Linked DNA regions of Homo sapiens: region 2 is linked to region 1. The links are contacts of gene promoters, found by promoter capture Hi-C in blood cells and fetal thymus (Javierre and others, 2016). All regions are on one chromosome and are shown on one strand. Each heading gives the region's core, a stretch centred on a gene start or on the middle of the fragment in contact. The rest is flanking DNA. Distances are from core to core; before and after follow the strand shown.

Evidence for each region. The method cuts DNA at HindIII sites, captures the fragments that hold promoters and counts their contacts. A CHiCAGO score of 5 or more calls a contact.
Region 2: a contact is called between a fragment that was not itself captured here and the fragment with the promoter of TAGAP in region 1, in 1 of 17 cell types (naive B cells). The highest score is 5.3, in naive B cells.

The regions. Positions count from the first base shown.
Region 1 is chr6:159,041,990-159,048,942 of GRCh38, forward strand. TAGAP (T cell activation RhoGTPase activating protein) reads right to left here and starts at 3,002. Exons shown (of 10, transcript NM_054114.5): 1 at 2,890-3,002; 2 at 2,131-2,215; 3 at 1,989-2,042; 4 at 1,600-1,666; 5 at 89-255. The coding sequence starts at 2,157. It overlaps TAGAP-AS1 (TAGAP antisense RNA 1), which reads left to right. Exons shown (of 5, transcript NR_183546.1): 5 at 1-1,067. RefSeq lists an enhancer at 436-705. The HindIII fragment of the contact is 8,846 bases long and covers 2,755-6,953 here.
Region 2 is chr6:158,802,113-158,808,640 of GRCh38, forward strand. The region is part of intron 2 of EZR (ezrin); the gene reads right to left. Among named protein-coding and RNA genes, the nearest start is that of EZR-AS1, 13 kb to the right of the region's middle. RefSeq lists an enhancer at 1,686-1,795. The HindIII fragment of the contact is 4,997 bases long and covers 1-4,868 here.

The DNA of each region.
Region 1 (6,953 bases), core at 1,752-4,251:
TTAATAGGAGAATGACATTCAGATTTCCCGAGTATTTTGCATGTCCAACTGAAAACTGAAGTAGGTTTATGAGAGAATGCACGCCTACCTGGATGGGTCTGGGGAGTGTGTCACTGTCACCGCAGATAATTGACAAGGGCTGATCAAATAGCGATGCTTTCAAGTCTGTCTCCAAAGCCCCAGAAAAATCTGATGCAGGGGAGAGCCTTCTCATGAGAAAGGGCCAGGACAGCACCTTCTTTCTCTTCTTAACTTCTACAGCCAAGAAAACAAGGCAACGAGAAAAATTAGACTACAGTGTTAAGAAGCAAAGATCCAGGTAAGAAAATGGGTATCGTTGGCCGCATAATGTGGTCAATAGTATGCGATGTGAGAAAAATAATTTTGAAAACTTGAGAAAGCAAAGGGCGTGAATCTTAATCTAGAAAAACCAACCGATAAACAACCACACTGTTACCAGGGCAACCAGTTCCCTAAACAGCAACACCAGAGTTCCTCAAGGCCTCCACCTTTCCTGTTTTCACTCTTTCCAGCTGTTTGCTACAGAAAATTAGCAAAACCTAACTGTGCTGATCATAAACAACCATCTTAACCTACTGGCCTGAATAACTATAGAGGAAATTTCTGATATGAAATAGATTATTTTGATTTCCTCCTTTAACTGGCGAAGAAAACGAAACTTAAAAGGTGAGGAAGTGACTTGCTGAATATCTTTTCGAAGGCACATAGCAGGGCTGGCTCCAACCCTTTGCAGCCACGCAGGCACTAAACAGCCACTAGAGGGAGCTAACACCATTTTTCCTTCCAGGTGACTGGTCACCTTGGGTTTTCCAGGTTGCTGCTTTAGGACAGAGGCAAATACGAATCGCTGCGGGAAGCCTTGAACCTAGATCTGGCAACTGGGAATTATCAGCAAAACGTTATCAAGATATTCTGTCCTTCTGAAATCCACAAGATGTGTGTGCAATGGATATTGCAATCTCAAACATTTCCTTCTTTCTTTTCTTTTCCTTCCTTCCTTCCTTCTCCTTTCTTACTAATTATAAAGGCTATATTTTCTAAATGCATTGGCATCTGTTTCTATACATTTCAGATTGGCAAGTGGAAGCATGATGAGAAAGAAGTGGCCTGTCTTTATGGTTCAGGAGAACTGGGTCAGGGTTACGCTATAATGAAATGCATTATGAAAAAAGTTGAGAGTGAATGGTGGGTCCTTTGGGATTTGAGATCAGCAACAGTTGCTTCATAGGCTCTTGGATGCATTCTCCATAAGAGAAGGAAGAAAATGGAAAAGACACTGTGTGTTTTTCAAATGTGTGCATGCTAATTGTCGAAACATACATGGCCAGGAGATTGAACCGCATTAAAAACGCTTGGCAGAACTGGGGATTCTCTATGGAGAGGCTCTTTCCTTTCCCAGCACTCCCTGCTCTAGTGAGTTGGAGCATACCTGCCATTTAAGGGTTAATGTTCTGCGGTCTTTAACAGAACAACTTATACAAAAAAATTCCTAGTAGAGTAAAAGCGCTGTGGTTTTGCAAACCAAGAGCACTGGTTGTTAGCACTTACATAAAAGATCGGTATGTTTTTAAAACTCACCAATGAGCTGGCAAATACTGTCTTCACTCTCACATGATGCCAACAGGGGATGTTCCTTGATATCACCCTAAAAACATTTTTATTTCAGTTAAATATAGTGACTGAAGAAACCTATCGAGTCTTTCCCCACAAAACACACATACAGCATTTTATTCATATTAAAAATGAAGTCAGTAGAGTGCATTGATGTTTTTTCTAGCTTCTAGAAGCAATATTAAGGTCTTGATTGTCATCATATAAGATCCTAATTAATGTGCTTAATTTACTACATGTGTGATGTTAGTTTACTACTCTTATAATTACTATTCAACCCAAATAATATTCAATTAAAACAAAGTTTTCCACCTTCTCACAGTACAGATAAAAAGTCTTAAAAATTGCTTTCTTACCTCTGATTGACATTCGATTAGTGTCTCCATATTATTGGCGTTTAGTGTTTTTGACTAAAAGAGAAAAAATAAAATTAGGTAAATATCTTTTGGCCCTTGCCTGTAGGAAACGTGAATGAATGAATGTGAGAGGGGCACTCACAGCATTGTGGCTGCTTCTCAGCTTCATCAGTATTGCGGCTGACTGTCCAGGGGTGGATTTCACTCCCGTGTGGCTGTGCCTCTGTCTACAACGAATCACATGGAAAGGAGTTAGGAGGGACTCACACAGTAGGCCACTTTCAGCGCCACTTTGCCAAAGCACAGAGTTTGAAACTATTTATTTATTTTTCTCTTTTGCTATTTTTTCACTTGCCTTTACTTTGGAAAAAACTATTACATAGACAAGTTTTCATTTAAAATCAGTTCTGTTACCAGATGTTGTATGTTGTTAAGAGCAGCATCTGAACACAATTATTTCTAAATTATTTAAGTCAACTATCTTTACCACTCTAAACGTTGTTACCAATTTATTCCGTTCCATCAAGAGATAATCTGGATATCAATTACGTTAACATTTTAAATTAACATGAACATTAACTTTTTTGGTGGAGTGCTGACTATATGCCAGCTGTCGTAGTAGGTGCTTTGCATGGATTTTCTCATCTAATCCAAAAAGGAAAAAAAAAAAAACATATCCCTAGGATGCTAAAATAGTAAACATGAAACAAAGATAACATTTACAGAACTCCTACACCAAAAAGGTGCAGCCTTCACGTTGAAGCAAAGCTTTGTCCTGAGACTTTATAAAGTGAGAGCATATTCCACGGGATAGCTGTTTTCTGTTGCCTGTGATCTGAGTGACCTGTGACTTGCGAGGCAGCTTGTAATTTCTAGGCATGTTAATATATAGTGTACTTACCCTTGGAGGGTCTCTAGCCAGAGTTCTTTTACATCCGGTGAGCTGTAAAGAATGGGAGAAACAGCATAACTCTCTGCTCCTTCTAGTCCACTGGGAGAGAGAGAGACCGAGCCGGTCTCCCTTCACATGCTCTGCATTATAAGCGAAGGGGCGGGCAGGTGGAAATTCAGAATATTACAGAGACCGGAAAGAACATCATGGGCTGTCACACGGACGGAGCCAGCCAGACACTGGAGAGCTCTCGCTTCCTCATTCCTTTTAGGGCAGCTATGTCTTTTTTTTTTTTTTTTTTTTTTTTTTTTTTTGTGTCTTCCACTTCAAAGTAAAAAATCTGTAAACTACTAGGAGTGGAAAACATGACATTCAGCCCATAGGTGAAGGCTCTGATTAATGTCATAGGTGGGATGTGTGAACAAGAAATTGTGTTATTCTGTGCATAAACATCACTTTATTTTCTAAAGTGGTAATTTCAAGTGCCTCTTTTTGCATCCTGTTTGGGTGCTCTTTCCCCTCCCACGTGCCATCTGCTCTGTCCACCAGCACCACACGTTGATTAGCACCCCTGGATGTGGGACACTGTTACAGAACCAGAAAGAAACCCAAGACAGTCCCTTCCTTGAGGAACAATCACCGTCCAAAGCCAGGTTAGTTTCCTTTGGAAGTAGAAAGAAAACTCCCTCGAGTCAGTTGTCAATATAGTAACCCCCTCCTCCTTTCTGTAACTCCTGGTCAAAAGTATTGATACTTAATTTACAGTCAGAGCAGCTGTCGTTCTGACACGGAAGGAAAACAAACAAAAAAATTCCTTTGATCAGACCAACTTAAAGTAGGAAAGAGATGGTGAATTTCATTTGTGGATCACTCTTCTGCATAAGAGAATTTCTGATCTTTTCTGTAGATCAAGGGCTATATATGAAACCACTCAAATGCCTCGACACGAGAATGGATGCATAAATTGTGATCCATTCACATAGGGAATGAATGTTGTATAGCACTGATAATGAACAGCCTATGACTATAGCCAACAATATGGTTGGATCTCATAATATGACGCTGAGCAAAAGAAGCCAGACGTGAAAGTGTATATCCTGCCGGCTCCCATTAATGCAAAGCACAAAATTAGCAAAAGTCGTCTGTGCTGTTGGAAGCAAGAGTAGCAGTTTCCCAGAGGGGATGGTAATGACTTCCAGGGGCCAGCGGGGGGCTTGGTGATGGTCCATTCTTGATCTGGGTGGTGCTAGGCTTATGTGCACACTTCCCTATTTATGTAATTTTTCAATAAAAAGTTTTAAAATAACTTGGCTTCATTTATCATCAGCATCTTTAATTTTAAGACTTTTCCGCATTGTCAGTTCTTTTGTCATTTTACTGAAAGGAGGTGATTATGGGGCAGACTTTGGGAAACCGAAGCACAGAGAGGTCGAAATTTGCTCTGTAACTTAGCGGCTCGGTGGGGACCTAGGGACAGATCCTGGTTTTCAGGCTTCCAGCTGGGGGCTCCCTCTCTGAAAGCCACCACAGTGCCAGAGTTCACCCAGTGTTCCCAGGGCAGCTGTAGAGGCCACCACTCTTTCAGCATCCCTCTCCTGCCTTTATAAACCTCCAAAGTGAACTCACTGATTTTTTTAATTGAAAAAGGGCATTTACGCTGTGCCCAGCCTAGTGCTAGGCATATAGTAGGTACTAAATAACTAATTTCTGAATATATACATTTCCTTATAAAATAGCCAAAATAGAATATTACTATAATGTTCTATATATCATAGAATATATATGTGATGTATATTCATTGCTAGTATGTATTTTCTAAACTTTTTTTTTTCCCGACAAACGGACTTTTCAAATTTTTGTAAGAAACTTAATGTACTTACTGTTCTTTCTTTTTTTTTTTTTTTGAGATGGAGTTTCGCTCTTGTCACCCAGGCTGGAGTGCAATGGCGTGATCTCGGCTCACTGCAACCTCTGCCTCCTGGGTTCAAGTGATTCTCCTGTCTCAACCTCCTGAGTAGTTGGAATTACAGGCACGCGCCACCATACCTGGCTAATTTTTGTATTTTTAGTAGAGATGGGGTTTCGCCATGTTGGCCAGGCTGGTCTGGAAATCCTGACCTCAGGTGATCCACCCATCTTGGCCTCCCAAAGTGCTGGGATTACAGATGTGAGCCACTGTGCCCAGCCTCAGCATCTTTTAAAAATACATAACATGAATGGTTTGATGACCTGCAGAAATGGTTACATCGACGGACTTTTCTTTTTCTTCTGGGACCTACCATGCCTAGTTAAGCACCCAGGGAACTATCTAGGATGAAAAGTTAGTAGCAAATACGGCAACAGAATTAGGGCCCCTCCATTTTTTGAAACAGAAATATGTTTTGGCTCTTCTTATTGACACAACTGATGGTGGGAAAGCCCAGAGGGAGGTGCCATCCTTTGGGGTCCCTGGGAGATTTTGACAGTCAACATCTAATGAATAGGTACATTTTGTGACTGAAGGAAAGCCACCATTGTTGGCTGGTGCTGCTGGGGGACTGAGGAGACGTTCTCCTTTATGACTGTGGCCCCGCCTGCATATGGCGCCTACTGTGGAAAGAGAAAGAGTTGTGAAGGGCAGGTGCTGCACCCTCAACTCTGAAAATCTCACAGTAATTTTGATCGCAGTTTTCCGAGCACTAGGAGAAACATTTATAAATAAAGTGTAAAATTTGGAAGCAGTCATGCCAAAAGTTAGAAAAAAAGATGGAAATGTCAGATTCACTTTTTCCATATTCTTGTCTCCCACACATCTCTTTGAAAAGCAAGCTCTCATCGTCCTGCATAGTAAGAGTCTTCAGAACGTGGAAAGGAACTTCAGTGGCTTTTGCTGGGTTGGGCTGAAGGAAACCCCGGTGAAACCCACACCTGTAAAGATGCTTCTCACAGTGGGACTTTTATCGCTTGGGTCCTGGTCACAATCAATTTTTCTGCAAATAATTGGCTTTGCTTTTCTTGTGGTGAGTCTCTAAGGACAGTGAGTTCCGTTCTGGGGACTGTGAGTTCTATGCTGTGTACATGTGTGCTTTGGAGGGTGACTGGAAGCACCATCGTTCCTTCCCATACTTTCAGGCTCAGTTACCGCTTCAGTCTGGACTGTTGTGAACGAGAATATGGAAGTCATTTTCCCCACATTGTTTACCCAGCTTGCCTGGGAAACACCAACTGGAGGATTAGAGTCCGGCTCTTCAGTTTGAACTCACTTTCCCTTTCTCTTCCTGGGACCACCCAGTGATTCAGAGCCCTGCATTCTGTAATGAGATTAATGTCAACAGTTTCCTGCATTGAAGATTATTTTCCCAAAGAGTTCACGATTTCCTTCAGGACTTCTCCATCACCCCAGTGTCTGGCTACCTAATGACTGATTAACAGGTTGATTTTCTAGAAAACTCAAATTACAATTTCTTTTTTTTAAAAAAGGGCAATCCAGCCTTTTCTCTGATTATCCGTCCTCCCCATCTCCCACTTGTCCTATGTTTTAGCCACACAGGCTGTTGTCATCCCCTAAAAGTGTGCTTCTGAGTCTCCAGGCCTTTGATAAATTGTTCCCTCCTCCTGAAATGCCATTCACGCCATCTGCCTTTTGGAATTCTGCCCTTCCCTCGGAATCTAGCCCAAGTCCTATCTCCTCTAAGAAGGGACTTTTCTAGATTGAATTAAATTTCCTTCCCTGGCCCTGCATAGTGGCCGCACCCAGTAGACTGTGAGTCTACTTTTTTCATCTTTTATTCTTACAAGTGCCTGGCCTCATATTTTGCACACAGTAGGCATTTGCTATACTTTAATTACTAGTAAAATTGAGTGATAAAATAAAACATTTAAATCTCACCATACGTTTGCTGGTATTGCAATTTGTTACTCAGACTTTTTGTCACTTAGCCTTTGACTGTTTCGTTTCATGGAGAAAGACTACCTCTTTGTCACGCTGTAACAGAGACCATCGTTGCAGAATTTGATTGAGCTGGAGACAGCCTCTCCTTGCACACACCGCGGGCTTATGTCGATACCAATGTTGTGGGATTAGACACATGGAC
Region 2 (6,528 bases), core at 1,120-3,619, 240 kb before region 1:
CCCACCCATTCCTTCTTGCCAGGTGTAAAGGGCATTCATTGGTTAGTACCTGCCCAGGTGCTAATTACTAATGAAAGCAAGGTCATAACTACAGACTTCAGCATCTAAGGAGCCAACTTAACTCTATGGAAAACCAAGTAGCTGTAGCTAGAGTTTCTCAGTTCAGTCCTTATTTTAGGAAATGGGAGTACAACTTTTAACCTGAATAAAAAGGCTTTCGGTACAGTCACTGTTTCAAATTTTAACTGCCAGCAAGTCTGGCAGAAAGGAAAATTTACCAAATATCAATTTTTATGATTTTTTGATGCGTTGTTTATACTCATTCACATCTAAATATTTACAAACACCTTATAGTTTAGTTCTTCTGGAATATTTGTATACTTCTACTTGACTATGGCTAGTTAGGTTTTTGGTGGTAGTGTTTTGTTTGTTTTTTGAGGCGGAGTTTCACTCTTGTTGCCCAGGCTGGAGTGCAGTGGCGCAATCTCGGCTCACTGCAACCTCCACCTCCCGGGTTCAAGCGATTCTCCTGCCTCAGCCTCCCGAGTAGCCGGGATTATAGGCATGTGCCACCACGCCCAGCTAATTTTTGTATTTTTAGTAGAAACGGGGTTTCACCATGTTAAGTTAGATGGTCTCGATCTCCTGACCTCGTAATCCACCCGCCTTGGCCTCCCAAAGTGCTGGGATTACAGGTGTGAGCCACCGCGCCCGGCCAGGTTTTTGCTTATTTAAGCACAAGAACCATACATGGTTTATCCCTCGAATACAGCATCCAGCCCATGTCCAGTATCCTAGGGGCCGTGTCTCCTACCCTGCGATTCTCCTGACACCACAGGGAAGCAGGAACTCATTTCCCAGAGAAGCCAGAAGCACTTTAAGGAACTTTTTGAGTAATTTAAATGATGAAAAGTAACACTACATGCCACTCACACCTCCTTTTCTAAACTGTTCTCCTTACTACTTCCTCCAGCACCACCATTAGGCTAAACTTAAAATGTCAAGGCTAAATTCTTAATGTGCAGCAGACGTTAACAGGGCAGAGTATTGACACAGAAGTGGGGGCTGGGAATTTCCTAGTAACTGACTTTTCACGTATCTACATGATGTTACATTTTTATGTTATATAAACGTATGTTTTAAGTAGCCAATCAGAATAGTGATGAAGTATAACTGGTAGAGTGACTCCAAATGAGTACTCGATACGAGGTATACGGTTATCCTCGTCTGATGACCTTTTTTTAATGGTTACAAAAACTGAGACCCTCAACTTCTGGTAATCAGCTACCAAAATATCTGTGTAGCTCTGGCTCTTTAACATTACTCCTAAAATAGTATCTTTAAATAGATGCCAATGGTTTTATGCTTTTGAAAAGTTTGTATTTACCAACTCCAGGGTAAATATTATGTAACATTATATATATATATATATGTATATATATATATATATATATATATATATATATATACATATATATATATATATATATATACATATATATATATATATATACATATACATACATATATATATATATATACATATATATATATAAAATATACAGAGAGAGTCCAGAATAATAGCCACCCCATAATTTCAAGAACATGTAATGAAATCTCAAATCCTAAATAGCTCTCCTTTTTCCTCTGAGAGTAAGCCACTTCCTGCCCCTAGACCCACATCCTGTCAGACCAAGGCTGCTTAACAAACACAAAAAGCGGACAAACCAGTCCCATCTGTGCTCATTATTATCAGCAAGAAAATCATGACCTTAGAACTAGAAGGGAACTTTCTGGGCATTCACATTCAAAAGAGGGTCATTTTAAAACCAGGTTGGGAAGAGTTCTGTGCTAAGCCCTCCCTACTGTCCACTGCATCTGGGAGGCAGAAAGGAGCTGCTTTCCATAGGTCTGACAATGAAATGACTGCTAGTCATGCCCGAGTTCCAAGCCTGCACTGCCGAGTAACACTGATGGCCATTTCCGACCTGCTGATGGCGTATGAAAATAATGCTCCTGATACCTATTAGCTGCTAGTTTTTAAGGCCCTTTTTGGTGAGTGTCTCTAATTAAGAACCAACTTCTTCTACACTGGAAATAACATACATTGTGTGTTATCTAACAGGGAAGTAAACTGGAATTCTTAGACACCACTTTCCCCTAAGAAAGGGAAAAGAAATAATCAAAGGATGTTACATTCAGCAAAAGAAACTATTCTTTCTAGAAACACAATCTACATCCTTCTCATCTCCTTACCTCAGGGCAGGCAAAATAAAGAGAAAGGGACCTTGAACAAGAATTTATCTAATAAACTCCTGAAGTCTAAGTCTTGATTGTATACCATGTGATTTCAGTTTCACTAGGTATATCATAAATACTTCATCACCAACATGCTTCACTGAAATGTGCAGGTAATTATACACAGAAACTTAAGTTTAGTAACTACTTAGTAAACTTAGTAACTACACACATAAACAAAAGTAAGGGACAAGGCCAAGATGGCTTATTATATGCTAGAGTCGGTTTTAATTGTAGGCTCAGAAAAGATAGGGAACTAAAGGCCTATAGATTAAACATCACTATTCACCTGGAATGCATGGTTGTCTCTGCAAATTTAGAAGCCTGTGAAGAGTTTTTCCTTTCTTTTTTTCTTATTTTTTTTTATTATACTTTAAGTTTTAGGGTACATGTGCACATTGTGCAGGTTAGTTACATATGTATACATGTGCCATGCTGGTGCGCTGCACCCACTAACTCGTCATCTAGCATTAGGTATATCTCCCGATGCTATCCCTCCCCCCTCCCCCCACCCCACAACAGTCCCCAGAGTGTGATATTCCCCTTCCTGTGTCCATGTGATCTCATTGTTCAATTCCCACCTATGAGTGAGAATATGCGGTGTTTGGTTTTTTGTTCTTGCGATAGTTTACTGAGAATGATGATTTCCAATTTCTGATCTTGGGAGTGAGAAGGTGAGTCTAGGAAACAATGAGGCTGAGGTGGGTGGATCACGAGGTCAGGCGACCAAGACCATCCTGGCCAACATGGTGAAACCATCTCTACTAAAAATACAAAAATTAGCCGGGCATGGTGGCGTGTGCCTGCAATCCCAGCTACTCGTGGGGCTGAGGCAGGAGAATCGCTTGAACCAGGGAGTCGGAGGCTGCAGTGAGCCTACATGGCGCCACTGCACTCCCAGCCTGGTGACAGAGACTCCATCTCAGGAAAAAAAAAAAAAAAAAAAAAAAAAGGTCGAAAAATTTCTTTGCTAACCTGTTTTTTAGAGGACATAAGACATAAACCATACTTAAGTCTTGTGCCATTGCTGAGATAAATTTTTGCCCCTAGTTAAGATCACATGAGCAATATTATACAATGTTAAAGAACATTTCTCCTGTAAGAAACTTCGATTAGACAAGATTTGAACTCACCCCAGTCTTTACTTTTGCCATGTGTCAAAAATTAGCAAGACCAAAGTAGCTTCTTTTAAAAAATCCAAACTAAATCAGTAATCTTACAAAATTTGCTTAAATAAGCAAACCCTGCCAAAACTTTTAAAATCACCATTTCTGAAATTATACTAAATTAAAATTAAAAAAACTCTTCAATTTATACTGTCAGTATCAAGTATGTTACATCTGAAATGGCATTATAATTTGTACATCATTACTTGACTGGAAAAGACATGGTGTACATTTTACAACCCTATCACTCACCCCAACCCCAACCCATGGTTTGCTGTATTTCCTTCCCCCATCCCTGCCCACAGCCCCAGTATGTAGATTGATCTCTTAAAATGGCTAAAGCCCTACCCAGTAGATGCCCCTTATTTTGTTCATTTCAATTTTCAAGTCTGAGAAAATCGCTATTAAGACAATGACCTGTTCCCAGTTGGGTCACAGCACTGTGCCCCATTCCTATGGGCCCCCCAAAACATTGGGAATACAAAGTAATAGTGGAAAAAACTGGGAACAAATCGTTCTATGTGTTTCCAAGTCAGCTGCAATTTTGAGTAGTGACCTCCTTTTAAAACATGTGCATGGAGGGTGAGATGGCCCGGGTGGGGCCATTTGATGAGATCAAATCAGTTACTCATTTGATCCAGAGCACAAAGGTTGCCCCAGCAGCAGGGAATGGGGGACCTGCCCTCGCCCTGAGATCCTCCCACCTCAACACTCAGGCACTTCATGACGAGCAAAAGTAAAGCATCTCTCCCTTTCTACCCTATAACATGCTTTTTAAAAGCAAATATTCTATTATGGAAAGTTGAAAACATTCATAAAAGTAGAGAGAATAAGTAGTACCATGATCCTCCACACTCTCTTTTCAGCTTCAACACCATTCTTTCTTCTACTCTACCACTTTCACTTTTTTTTTTTTTTGCTGGCATATTTTAAGGCCCTCATTCATTATTTCACTTGTAAAAACTTCAGTATATTGCTCTAAAGCACTAAAAAAAAAAATCACAATACCATTATCACATCCAACATAATTTAAAACAATTCCTTAATACGTCAAGTTCAGTAAATATTATTCAATTTTCCTCCATTTCTTTGAAAATGTCTTTTTGCAGTTGATTTGTTCAAGTTATATAATGCACCTTGTTATCACACTATTTCCACATTGCCTTGTTCAGCCACGTTCTAAATAAAAAATCCAGTTTTCTCACCATTATCTGTCTAAATCCATTTAAGAGTCTCACCCAAACAGCAATGGATTATGTAAGCAAATACTTCAACATCCCAGCAGCCAACACCCTTAATTATTTAACTGAGGCAATGAAACACACCTTAATGAAAATACTGTACCAATATACACTACATATATGTTTACAAATAAAGTGATTCCAATCTCATATTTATGTGCTAAGCTTTAACCAAGTGACCTGTGGTTCAATTTTCTCTTTAAAAACATAACAGGCCAGGCGCAGTGGCTCACGCCTGTAATCCCAGCACTTTGGGAGGCTGAGGCGGGCGGATCATGAGGTCAGGAGATCAAGACTGTCCTGGCTAACATGGTGAAACCCCGTCTCTACTAAAAAATACAAAAAAAATTAGCCGAGTGTGATGGCTGGCGCCTGTAGTCCCAGCTACTCGGGAGGCTGAGGCAGGAGAATGGCGTGAACCCGGGAGGTGGAGCTTGCGGTGAGTCCAGATCACACCACTGCACTCCAGCCTGGGCGACAGACAGAGACTCCGTCTCAAAAAAAAAAAAAAAAAACAAACAAAAAAGACAAGGCTGGATCCCAAGACATATTTTATAAGAAATTTACAGATGAAGTAATGGTGCAATAGGTAAAATACTATCAAAACAATCATTTCCCTGAACCACAGCACCTGAGAAAGGATGGAAGAGTAAGTGGGTTTGGAAATGATGGACTTATCACCAAACCCTTGCAAAAACAAGTTCTTGAAGAAAGACCATCATGGTTCACTGTCCAACCCAAAAGTGATTTACCAGAAAACCAACAAAAACACATCACAGTGGGCCCACTCCTAAGTCACTCTGCCCAGTGGTTTTAACGCTTCAAAGAGTCAGTAAAGAATGAAAGTTAATTCTAGCTCTTGCCAAAGCCTAGGTGAAAATTTACAGTAGCACGCTCACCACCCCCTGACGATGTATTAGACATGTGTCTTTCCCCCTGCAATATAAGCTTCTTGAAAGCAGGTCTTTCTTTCAGGAGGGGCTGAGGAAGGCACGGCTCCCTTTACAACTCCAAACAGAAAGCCCATTTTATTTAGTCAGACCAGCATCTCCTTTCCAGAGCATTTTGCCATTGAGGAAAGGTGGGACAATGTGCATTTCAGGCTCAAATACACATTAGCAGGAAATGGGTTCCACCATTCACTGGATGTGACTGTCAACCAAGCAGGTGATAATCCTTTAAAAGCCTCTTTTTGTTCACCAATGTCTCCCCAGTACCTGAAAACCTGGCACAAAGTAGGTGCTCTATTTGTTGAATGAATGAACTTTATGCAGGGTGGTTGTACAGGTGTACCTAACATCAATAACTTAAGAAGAATGCGTGTGTGGAGTTCCGAGCTAAGGAATCCTAGTGGCCAACCCTGAAATCAATTCCTTATCTATGGGGAACATCTGAACCCCCAGCCCACAAGCACTTTAAGGCTGCCAGGTGGAGGCTGTTAGGGGGAGTATGTTAAGTAAGAATGCTGTGTAAACTGCATGCTTTTTCCAAGCTTTCGGGAAGCAGTTGCTGTTCTGTCCAACCCACCACCACTGGACTGTCCCATATGTAAATTTCCAATAAACCTGATGCTATCCCTGTTGAAGTCAACAGAGGTCTAGCAAGACAGCTGTGTTCATCGTGGCAGCAAAAGGACAAACAACAAGGTTACATTTACTTACTACATTATTTCATCGGGCTGCTAAGTTAGAGGAAAAGAATGACCATCACGAGCTAGTAAAGCTTTTAATCAGATTAGAATTTTATCAGGTACAAGTGGAACCGCACAGCCCTTACTGACCAGGGCCAGGCATAAGGCCAGGTGCTTCCCATGTGCCATCTTA